Regions from separate parts of the Homo sapiens genome. Here all the other regions are linked to region 1. The links are contacts of gene promoters, found by promoter capture Hi-C in blood cells and fetal thymus (Javierre and others, 2016). All regions are on one chromosome and are shown on one strand. Each heading gives the region's core, a stretch centred on a gene start or on the middle of the fragment in contact. The rest is flanking DNA. Distances are from core to core; before and after follow the strand shown.

Region 1 (3,831 bases), core at 580-3,079:
AAATGTACTCATATATTGAGTGTGCCAAAGACTCTTCTAGGCACTGATGATACAATGTGGAATAAAAGTCCTGGCCGGGCTTGGTGGCTCACGGCTGTAATCCCAGCACTTTGGGAGGCCGAGGCAGGTGGATCACCTGAGATCAGGAGTTTGAGACCAGCCTGGCCATCACGGTGAAGCCCCGTCTCTACTAAAAATACAAAAATTAGCCCAGCATGGTGGCGGGCGCCTGTAATCTCAGCGACTGGGGAGGCTGAAGCAGGAGAATCGCTTTGATCCTGGGAGGTTGAGGTTGCAGTGAGCCGAGATCACATCACTGCACTCCAGTCTGGGCAACAGATCGAGACTCTGTCTAAAACAAAACAAAACAAAATGAAGTCCCTACCCTCATAGAGCTTACAGTTATTGTGGTTAGCATAGAAATAAATCATAAATCAATCAGAGACCAACTAATTAAAGGGATTATTTTTTAAAATTCTCATTAATCACAGTAACAAGTACCCCAAGCTTACATATAGCCCTTGAAGTTTCCACATCCACGTATTTTCTGGGCAACTCTTCCCAAGTAAAAAATATTTTCAGCGTTTTTATGTTTCACGTAGGTCAATAGGGTAATATCCAATCATAAAGATCTGCCTTCTTGGCAATGGAGAAATTTTCCCATCATATATATGTACAAATACATACATACATACATACATACATATTAATGACAGAGTCTTGCTCTGTTGCCTAGGCTGGAGTGCAGTGGCATAATCATAAGCTCACTGCAACCTTGAATTCCTGGGCTCAGGCAATCCTTCCTACCCCCTCAGCCTCCGGAGCCGCTAGGACTACAAAAGCTTACCACAACGCCTGGCTAATTTTTCTTTTTCTTTCAAGATGGTGTCTCACCATGTTGTCCAGGCTGACCTGGAACTCCTGGGCTCAGGTGCTCCTCCCGTCTCGGCCTCCCAAAGTGCTGGGATTATAGGCACTTTCCCATAATATTTATAATAATTAAAGGAACAAACAGAGAGATAGACAATCGCCTAAGAGCAGACAGACAATCATGAATTTTTAGCAAGGGATTTGTGTTCTTATAGATAAAATACAGCCTGACTCTTGGAACGGGCATGGCAACATCAGTGTATATTTTATAAGAACTATTATATCGTCTATTAATGATACTTGATTGTTAATAAAATTTTTTTAGCCTGGGCTTCAGGAAACTGTGAATGAAATACACACACGCACAAACTGTATGCAAAATTTCACACACATGCCATCTACAATATGCATGGCAACACCAGAAAGTTCCAGGCCTTAAGGGAGGGTCTTACTTCCTAGAATCTGTTGTAACATCACTTCACAAGATTTGTTGTGAGTGCTTGAGTCACAGTTGGCGCTCAAGAAAGATGCGTTCTCCTTTTAAACACAAAAATGTCCATTGATACAGCAGATTCCGTTCATAGGCATCCTTAATCGCAGAAACAGGAGGGCGGCCCTTTTCCTCAAGGCGCTCTCAGTCCAGGGATGTGCCCGCTCCGCAGCCACACAAGCTGGCGTGGGATAGGGTCAAAGAGCGGTGGATGCGCACGGGCCGCCCACGCCCTCGCTGCCCTCCCGGAGCGTGGGCGAGTGATTCCGATTGTGCAGCAGAAACCCAGGGTCTCACGGGAACGAGGAAACCCGCCCACGCCCAGCCTCCAAGCGACGCTCTCCATGACAACCGGCACTTGGTAACGGCCTCGCCCTGCCCCGCTACGCCGCGCCTAGCGTGCCGCCCCGCCCCGCCCCGCTACGCCACGACCAGCGTGCTGCGTCACGGCGGTGCGCCGGAAGTGGCTGCGGATTTCGCCGGAAATCCCGGAAGTGACAGCTTTGGGGGTTTGCTGCTGGCTCTGACTCCCGTCCTGCGATGGGTTGCGACGGGGGAACAATCCCCAAGAGGCATGAACTGGTGAAGGGGCCGAAGAAGGTTGAGAAGGTCAGTGATGTGGGCCGGCTCTTGGCGACCGGGGGTGGTGGGAATTTGACGACCCCAGAAAACGAGAGGAAGTAAGAAGGGGGAGCCAGCGGAGTTCCAGACCTGGCTGCGGTCTTTTATTCCATTCAGAGGACTCAAAATTAACAACAGTATTAAGAGTGGACATTCAATGGGTGCTGACTATTGCCATTCACTGGACAGTAATCTTAACAGGGGGTATCTCATGTAATTATCACAATAGCCCTATAGCTACATACTGTTGTCCTCATTTTCAGACATGGAAGTTGAGGCTCAAAAGGAGAAATTTGCAAAGCTAGTAAATGGCAGAGCCAGGATTTGAACCCTACCTGCGACTAGTAGCAATAATACAAATACCTAGTGTATACTGAGTTTTGTATACACTAACTTCATTTGCTCAGAGAAGCCTTCCCAAACTGTTCCCTTACCACATCCTTTTATAAACTGTCTTAGCCTGCACACGGCTGTACGTGGTTGATTTGTATCAAGTCTTCCCCGCTAGACGGTAAGTTCCTGATAGCAGAGGCTGTACCCTTTTTTTCTCTGCAACTAGCATGGTTCCTGGCACACTAAATATTTCGAATAAACAAATGAGTGAATAATCCCTGATCTCACAAGTAATCGAGGAAATTATAATAATTTCTTTGCTACTGACGGGGACATTGAGTCCAGGGATATTAAGGTGACTAAGATCACACAGCTGGTAGGTAGTGAAGCCAGGATTCCCATCCACTTATTTGGGATTTCAAAGTTAGCACAAGTAATTACTTTTTAATGATAAAATATTTGTAAAGCACCTAGTAGAGACTTCTTTACAAAAATATTTGTAAAGCACACGTGGAGACTTCATGTATTCTGATTCAGGAGCTGGAGAGCTTGTTTAAAAGGTAAACCCCTTAAGTCACTATTGTATTTGAAGCATTCCAGTGGCTTCCCATCACATTAAGAATAAAATCTCGTCAGACCCTTGAGCAGACCTTGCCTATGTTTCTGACCTCATCTTCTGCCCCTCTCCACCTCTTTCATACTGTTCTAGCTAAACAGGCCTCTTGTTCTTCAACCTGGAGTGTGAGTTCATCAATCTGAAATACTCTTCACTGAGATTGTCACATGATGAGTTTCTTTACTTCATTCAGTTTTTTACTCAAATGTCATCTGTCCACTGTAACTGAAATGTGCCTCACTTCCAATATTCTCTCTTCTCTTCTTAACAGTGCCTACCACTGTGTTGTTTATTGTCTCTTTCCCACGTAGACAGGAACCTTGTGTGTCTTACCTCTGTAACCCCTACCATGTGTCAGCCACATAATAGACACCTAATAAGTATGTGTGAATATGGGAATGAATGAATACCCAAGAGGATGAAGTGTACCCTCTGATCATACGTACATGTAAACAGGCGAATGCTGGATAATTAGCATTCATGAGTGGTTTTTTGGCTTTCACCAAAAAAGTGTTTAGCTCAGTTTTGTTTTCTTGTGCCCAGGGCTGAAAAGGAGTAGCTTAATGAAAGGCTTGACAAGAAACAGGTGTCGGAAGAGGGTAGAAAAGAAGGAAGAGCGATTCAAAAAAGCCAGAATGCCTAGGCAGGATGGATTTTTATTATAACTATTCACACAACAAATGCTTAATAAGTGGTTACCATATATACATTGTTGTAGGCCCCAGGGATATAGCAGTGAACAAGGCAGAGTCTAGCCCTGGTGGAGCTTACATTTCGGATCAATATTGTGAAATCTGCCCTGGTTCCTAACGCAGAGCACCTAAATTCCTTGTAATTTCCTGGGTGACGGGATCATCTTTTGTTCTAATAAGGCAATTATTGGTGGGCTCCTGGATGGGGC
Region 2 (3,697 bases), core at 1,164-3,663, about 33 Mb before region 1:
ATAAGCACAGTGACACAGGTAGCCGTTTCCTCTTGACACCCCTTCCCTTCTCTATTATCTGAAGCCCAGTGTTTTGAGAGATAAGGGACCCACCTTAAATACTTGACTTTCTCATTCAATTTGTAGCTAGGTCTGACATGTGATTAAGTTCTGGCCAATGAAGTAGGACTGAACTTGGGGGAATTTTCCTTCAACAGACCCTTCTTTCTTTCCCACTCTATCCTGCTGCCTGGAAAGGTTATGCTGACCTGACCACGGGCTCTGGCTCAGTCTTGGCCAAGAGAACAGCTCAGCCATACCCTAGACGTAGGATAGTGCTGAGCTAAAAGGAGCCTAGGTCCCATGTGGAAACACCAAAATAGCCCCAGCTCACTCAACCAAAGACTTCTTTTTAAATGAGAAATCCCATCTTAAGCCATTATCAATTTGGGGTGTGTGACACTGACACACAGCAGTAATCCTAAGTGAGGAAAAGGATTTGAATGGGGCAGACTGTATTCACTACAGGGCCCAGAAGACGCGGGGACGGCCCCAACTACTGCCCTTCAGGTCCGGGCCAGACCCGCAATGGGCAGGATGGGTAGGGTACAGGGCGTGCGTCCCCACCTACACTAGCCTGGTTGCAGGCGGCCTCCAAGGGCACAGCGGGAAGCTCCGCCCTTGCCATGCCCCCGCCACCGGGGAAGGCAAGACAAATGTGCGTGGCACCCTCCTCCTTCGGTTCTGGGACACATCTCCACCAAGCGGCCGTTCGGCAGGTAGGGCCAGATGGTCCCGGCTCGTCCCTGCGGGTGGGGTTTCCCACCGGCGGAAAGCGCAAGCCCCTCCCGTTCTGTCCAGCGCGCTGCCCGCTGCCTTAATTATAAGGCAGATGAAGGTGAAAAGTTTACTGGTTTTTATTTTTGCAACTTTTTGTAAATTTTAAATTATTCTAAAAAGTTTAAGAAATGAATTGTGCTGAGGAGTATAATCAGCACGCAGTGCGAGTTCTTATAGTGGCCACGTCCACAAACCCTGTGTTGTGGAAGAACAGAAGGCGTTCTGCTTTCTGTGTTTCACCGTCTCTCCCTCGCTTTAACTTCCAGGTCCCGGAGTAGTGGTGACAGCAAGGTCTGTTGGTTTCTTTGGTTTAGGTTTGATGAAAGGCCACTCCAGTGGGGTAGGAGGTGGGCAGGGAGAACAGGGGCTAGGGTGGGAGGGGCAGGAGTTGGGTCCTGGGGGTGGAGGAGATGACGGGGAGAGTGGCTTGGAGAAATCTGCAAGAAGAGACATTGGAAGGCCGGGGGAGGTGAAATGGACACTGGGTGAAGCTGAGGAGTCCTAGTGAACCATGTTACCTCTGATCCAGATATTCCCAGAACAACAAGAAATCAAGCTTCTGAATGTGGTCTGTTGCAAGCTTGGAAGGTGCACACCTGTTGCTGCTAATTTGGACAATTTGGGGGAAGAGCAGAGATTTAGATGTTGCTTTGGTCGACCTTAAACACCAGCCCTGTCTCCCCTACCACTTTGCCAAATTAGGGCCCCGTCTCTCTAAAGAGCAAACAGAAAACTGCAGAAAGTTGCTTTGTCCTGTAGACAAGAGGCTGGGACTAGGTAAGAGGAGGGAGCCAGGATGCAAAACTTAAGACCAGCCTGGCCAACAAGGCGAAACCCCGTTTCTACTAAAAATAGAAAAATTAGCTGGGCGTGGTGGCAGGCGCCTGTAATCCCAGCTACTCAGGAAGCTGAGGCAGGACAATCGCTTGAACCCAGGAGGCGGAGGTTGTAGTCAGCCAAGATCGCGCCACTGCATTCCAGTCTGGGCGACAGAGCGAGACTCCGTAACAAAAAACAAACAAACAAACAAAAAATCTTAAACATCACCAACGAGCCTTGTGAGAAATGGTTTAACGTTGTGATACCTTGCCCAATTTTAAGGCAGGTAAAGGTGTGTGTTAAAACTCAACTCTTGAACTGAACCCCAGCTGCCCTTTAGGGCATGCTTAATTTGATGTGGACTGTAACCTCTTTTGCAGCATTGTAGAGATTTGGAATCTGCACATTAGGAAGAGACCCCACGAGGCGGTGGCGTTCTTTCTCGTTCGGAGCTCACACCCCTCCTGGGGAGCCCTCTCCCAACCCGGGCTCCCGGTAAGCGCGGTCGCCGCTCCTCTGAGGGCTGCTCTTCCCTCGCTTCTGAGCCGAGGCCCCCGCGACACGAACGCCACGCCCGAAGCGCTCTTGCCAGGACGTACTGACCGAGGGTAGGCTGCCCAGCCGGGTGGTAACGTTGAGGAAAGGACAGCAGCTTCGCAAAGGAGCTGGGTAAAACCACGCCCAGACCCCGCTGGCCACCAGCCCGAGACCAAGACGCAGGCGGTGGCGCCGGTTTCTCACTCAACCGCAGGTTCCAGCATCCCCGATACGGCCGACGTCATTACCCTGCGACCGCTCAGGACACTTCTGAGGACTCTTTTGACAGCTAGTAATCGCGCGGTGGCGCGACCACGTGACTCCGGCGCCCTAGCCCCGCCCTCCGTCTCCAAGGAGCCCTGGAAGGAGCTATACCAGCGGCTCCAGAAGGCGGGGAGAGGCGGGGCCGGACTCCGGGACAGCCAATGGGCGAGGAGTGCCGCCCAGCCTGACCCACCGGCCGCTCCCTCACGAGCCTGTGGGCGTGCGCCGGCTGTGCAGGTGAGGGGCAGCGAGGGCGCCTAGTGGGCAGGGCGCCGGCGTTGCGCGTGCGTCAGTGTTCTTCCTTGTGCAGTTTAGAATTTGATACATTTCTTTCCAGTCTATTTCTATAGATTTGTTTTCAAATCACATCAGACCCTATGTAAAATAGTGTACCGTCTTTACTCATTATAACATGGTGAGCATTTCCCCAAGCTATTACACATATTTTTAAACATTGTTTTAATGACCGGCATAATAATCCAGTGCTTGGATATATCAAATTCTTCGGCCATCTCCTTATAGGTGAGATTGTTTCCAAAGTTTCACTAATGTAAGTGCACTGCAGTGAACGCCCTTACGTAACAATTGTTCACTCCCGTGTACTTTTCTCGTGCAGAGTTCTACAGCATGAAACACTATATTTAACTTTGTCAGGTTGATGTTTATCAGTGGTTTATTATTGTTTTTATAGTATTCCATTGTCAGTGAAGTATGCCATTCACACTGTCAAGTGAATTGTCTATTTGTATTATTTAAAAAAAAGATCACAAACATAGAAAGGAGAGCTTTATTTCTTTAAACGGTGATAACCTGCAAGGTGGCCCTTCTGACAGGCTGGGAAGCATAGCTTCTGGCAGAAGCTCAAAAGGCAGGCAGCTGGAGGGAAGGGGGCCTAAGACAGGAATTTAAGCTGAAGGACTTAGCCAAGTACACATATGAACAGGCCACAGGAAGAGCTATGAATATTCATGAAACGGGTCCTGACCCATGCTTACTGGACAAACGTGCATGTTACAGGTGACCTATGTTTACTTTGGGGTGGACTCTTAGCATTTACAGGTATTCATGTATTACATTTAGACCCTATAAGTTGAAAGATCTTTTCAGGACACCGATGCACTTGTGTGCAGCCTCTGTAAACCGCCAGAATCAGCCCCTGTTCGGTTGTTTCCCATCAGGAAAAAGTTACTGCAGTCAGTCTCTGGTCCAATCAAAGCAGTAATTATTTGTGGAAGTGGTGGGGCTGGGGCAGGGGGCG
Region 3 (3,580 bases), core at 99-2,598, about 38 Mb before region 1:
TCTGGTATTTACTTACTAGATGAACAAGTTTCTCTATGGAGGTGCCTTTAACTTCTCAAGAAATGTGTAAGTTAAGACGGCTCCAAATTACATTTTAAGAGAGCCTTGTATTTTTAGAGGTTCTTTTTCATCGGTCAGAAAAACTTACGTTGACGATTCTGCAAGAAAGGTTGCTCGCAAACCATGCATCGCAAAGCTACCGAGGCAAATTTAAAGAACCAATGAAAAAGAGTGGAGGCTCGTCTGAATCTTTAATTGGCTATGGGAATTTCAATTTATTGCATAAATAATCTTTTAGACCTCAAGATACACGTGACCTAGGGACAGTTTACATCAATGGGCAAGACTTAAAAATAGACACCAAGTTCAGCAAGTATTTGAGCACCTACTAAAAATTACACAACTCCCACAACAACGCATTTTGCGTTTCTAAAGTTGTAAGCAGCATGTTCGGACGCTTGATGCAATTTCCCAAGTTGTTTGGGCCCCCCCCCCAAAAAAGTCTTCTCAGTAAAAGGTGGGGGGAAGGAGGGTATTTTGGGGGCAACAAACCAAACTGGTCTGTCGCATGTTAAGTCAATTTCACGTTCACCTACTGGTCACCACGAAGCCGAGGAAAGTTTTAAAAAGAACATTCCGGGGTCTCCAGAGATCATCTCTCCAAGTCCGCTCGGCACCGGCGCCTGAGCTGGGGCTAAGGTCCCGCGTCTCTGGTTCTGTCCTAATAGAATCCGGGACATCCACAGGGATTCCCCGGGGCAGCCTTCAGTGAAGACCAGGGAGAGGGGCCGCCCGGGTCTCACGGGTGCTTCCCGCGCTGGGGATGGCGGCGAGCAGCCACGGCCTATGGACGCGCAAGGGAAAGAATGCAGCGACCCCGGAGCTCGCAGGGCCGCCCGCCCAGGAGTCTGAGGCTGGGAGGACCTCACCTTGCTGCGGTCCTCCTCCTGCTGCTGCAGCAACTCGGGAACCGCGGCCATGGCGACGCGGGACTCGAGCAGGGGCCGCCTGGCTGTGCGAGGAAAGAAGAAGCTGGGCCGCCGCCGCCGCCGCCTGGGCGCCTCTCGGGGGCGGCCACGGCCCCGCCTCCGCCGGCCTCCCTGCCCGACGGCGGCAGGAGGCCTCCGGACTCCGCCACCATCCCAGCTGCCCCGGGAGCAGGCGAGCAGGGCGCCACGTGCTCCCCCAGAGCAGCCTCCCAGTCCCCGCTGCCGTCCATCTTGGAGCCGGGCAAAGACGCCACGTGGGGCCTACCCTTGCTCCGCTCCACGAGGAGGCCGCCAACCGCAGGGCCGCGACACGGACGGGAAGCAACGGACACTCTCCCAGCAAGACGCGTCTAGAGAAAGACCGCGTTTCGGTGCGGGGGGAATTTATTACTCAGCCCGAGTCCAAGATGGCAGCGAGCGCTGACGTCACCAGATCTCGTGAGAGCAGAAGGGCGCGATTTGGAGGCTCCCGCGCTTCGGAGACGCCGGCCCTTCCGCTCGGAGAGGTACTCCCTGCCTCTAACTGGTGGCGCGTTGGCGGAGGCCGACGAAAGCCTCGGGTGGGGCGTGAGCGCCGCGGGGCATTCTGGACCTGCTTTGCCTTAGGCTGTGCCTAATTCGAAACCAAAGCGCGGGACGGATGAAAGTACGGGTCGCGAGAGGTTGTTCGCGCCTTGAGAGTTAAGCGAAGTGTGGTGGCTTCCAAGGTACCGACACTTGCCGTAGGCTGGGCTTTTATTTAAGTCGTCTTTTCTCTAATCCAGACTCCTGCCACAGGGGCCACCGCCGTCCTGGCCCCGCCAGGGGTCCGCACCCACGGCGGAGCGGGAGGCGACTTTTTGCGGTCACAGTAATGGGACCTCAGCGCCGCCACCAGCTCTGACCGGCGAGCGACGGGACCCTCCAACCCGATTTCCACGTCTGTGCAACGGGTTCATTCTAGACCCACGGTAGAGGGTGTGAGGACCAAATGAGAAGTATCCACACAGAATACTTAGCAGAGAGCCTGGTGTCTAGGAATTAGTCGTCGTCTGTCACCTAGGACTGTGTGGCCGCCATGGGACGGGCTCCATCTTTGTGTTTTTCCGTGTCTCGCACACGCCTCCCTTCCTGGGCGTCACATTCCTGCAGATTAGAAACTGGGACGTCTTGCCTCAAGCTGTCTACTAATTCGCATTTAGTATGTGTCGGTCCTTCGGGTATTGAGTCTTGATTTATTTATAAATTTTTTTTGGAGGCAGGGTCTCGCTCTGTCGACTTTCTTAAGAAAGGGCTCTGTCCAAACATGTCGAAAAAGTTCACAATTTTGATGTGCAATATCATTCTGATGCAGCTTTCGCTTTGATGGTTGTTTTCTCTCCAATAGGAATACAAACATAAAGGCCTTCGACCGTTGCAAATAGACTAAAGTGAAAACAAATCTGAATGAAGATGAAGTTATTTCAGACCATTTGCAGGCAGCTCAGGAGTTCAAAGTTTTCTGTGGAATCAGCTGCCCTTGTGGCTTTCTCTACTTCCTCTTACTCATGTGGCCGGAAGAAAAAAGTGAACCCATATGAAGAAGTGGACCAAGAAAAATACTCTAATTTAGTTCAGTCTGTCTTGTCATCCAGAGGCGTCGCCCAGACCCCGGGATCGGTGGAGGAAGATGCTTTGCTCTGTGGACCCGTGAGCAAGCATAAGCTGCCAAACCAAGGTGAGGACAGACGAGTGCCACAAAACTGGTTTCCTATCTTCAATCCAGAGAGAAGTGATAAACCAAATGCAAGTGATCCTTCAGTTCCTTTGAAAATCCCCTTGCAAAGGAATGTGATACCAAGTGTGACCCGAGTCCTTCAGCAGACCATGACAAAACAACAGGTTTTCTTGTTGGAGAGGTGGAAACAGCGGATGATTCTGGAACTGGGAGAAGATGGCTTTAAAGAATACACTTCAAGTAATTATCTCAATTCTGATTCTATATGTTTGCTATGTTTTCTATAATAGAGAGCAACGGTGTCAAAAGAATGAGGTTTGGTTTTGTTTTTTTAACTTACTAGCAAGGAACTCCCTTCAGATAGTAATTAACATTAAATAGCACTTTATGTGTATTAACTCACTTGATCCTCATGGTAGTCCTGTGGAGTATAGATACTGTTATCCACATTTTACAGATGAAACTAAAATAGATCAAATATTTGACTAAATAATACATAAAATTCACTTGTTTTATAAGCTACCAACAATATTAGAATTGCTTGTTTTCCTTGATTATTGAAAAAAGTCACCTGGTAACAGAATTCTAGTTGTTTGCTAGATAATTCTGTTTAGAATCCAGTAAATACCCACTGTCCTACTTATTAGCGTAAACTGACTCGTAAATTTAAAGACCTTGAAGCAGACCAGAACACATGACCTATATTTAGACCTTGGTAAACATAATCAGAGGTTCTTCATAAGGATCTGAGGATAAATACACTTTAACCTTCAACTTCTAATTTACTAACTTGGACAAGTGAGGAGAATAGCTTCCTTAAATTTAATATTCCATTCAAAAACAAAGACCATTGGCACTGGTGAATTAGCTAGTCCCATAAATTATATAGGGGTCT

What was found. The method cuts DNA at HindIII sites, captures the fragments that hold promoters and counts their contacts. A CHiCAGO score of 5 or more calls a contact.
Region 2: the fragment with the promoter of LINC01431 here is called in contact with the fragment with the promoter of RTF2 in region 1 in 1 of 17 cell types (total CD4 T cells); the score reaches 9.4 in total CD4 T cells.
Region 3: the fragment with the promoter of SNX5 here is called in contact with the fragment with the promoter of RTF2 in region 1 in 1 of 17 cell types (total CD4 T cells); the score reaches 6.4 in total CD4 T cells.

The regions. Positions count from the first base shown.
Region 1 is chr20:56,466,798-56,470,628 of GRCh38, forward strand. RTF2 (replication termination factor 2) reads left to right here and starts at 1,830. Exons shown (of 9, transcript NM_016407.5): 1 at 1,830-1,969. The coding sequence starts at 1,901. The HindIII fragment of the contact is 9,363 bases long and covers 841-3,831 here.
Region 2 is chr20:23,355,714-23,359,410 of GRCh38, forward strand. LINC01431 (long intergenic non-protein coding RNA 1431) reads right to left here and starts at 2,414. Exons shown (of 3, transcript NR_109884.1): 1 at 2,242-2,414; 2 at 1,338-1,424; 3 at 881-1,256. RefSeq lists enhancers at 1,840-1,929, 2,120-2,509 and a silencer at 2,560-2,749. The HindIII fragment of the contact is 4,137 bases long and covers 1,398-3,697 here.
Region 3 is chr20:17,967,446-17,971,025 of GRCh38, forward strand. It overlaps SNX5 (sorting nexin 5), which reads right to left and starts at 1,349. Exons shown (of 13, transcript NM_014426.4): 1 at 930-1,349. The coding sequence starts at 980. MGME1 (mitochondrial genome maintenance exonuclease 1) reads left to right here and starts at 1,573. Exons shown (of 5, transcript NM_052865.4): 1 at 1,573-1,696; 2 at 2,356-2,925. The coding sequence starts at 2,415. RefSeq lists enhancers at 62-816, 678-727, 778-947, 817-1,571, 1,188-1,497 and 3 more and a silencer at 978-1,187. The HindIII fragment of the contact is 5,200 bases long and covers 1-3,580 here.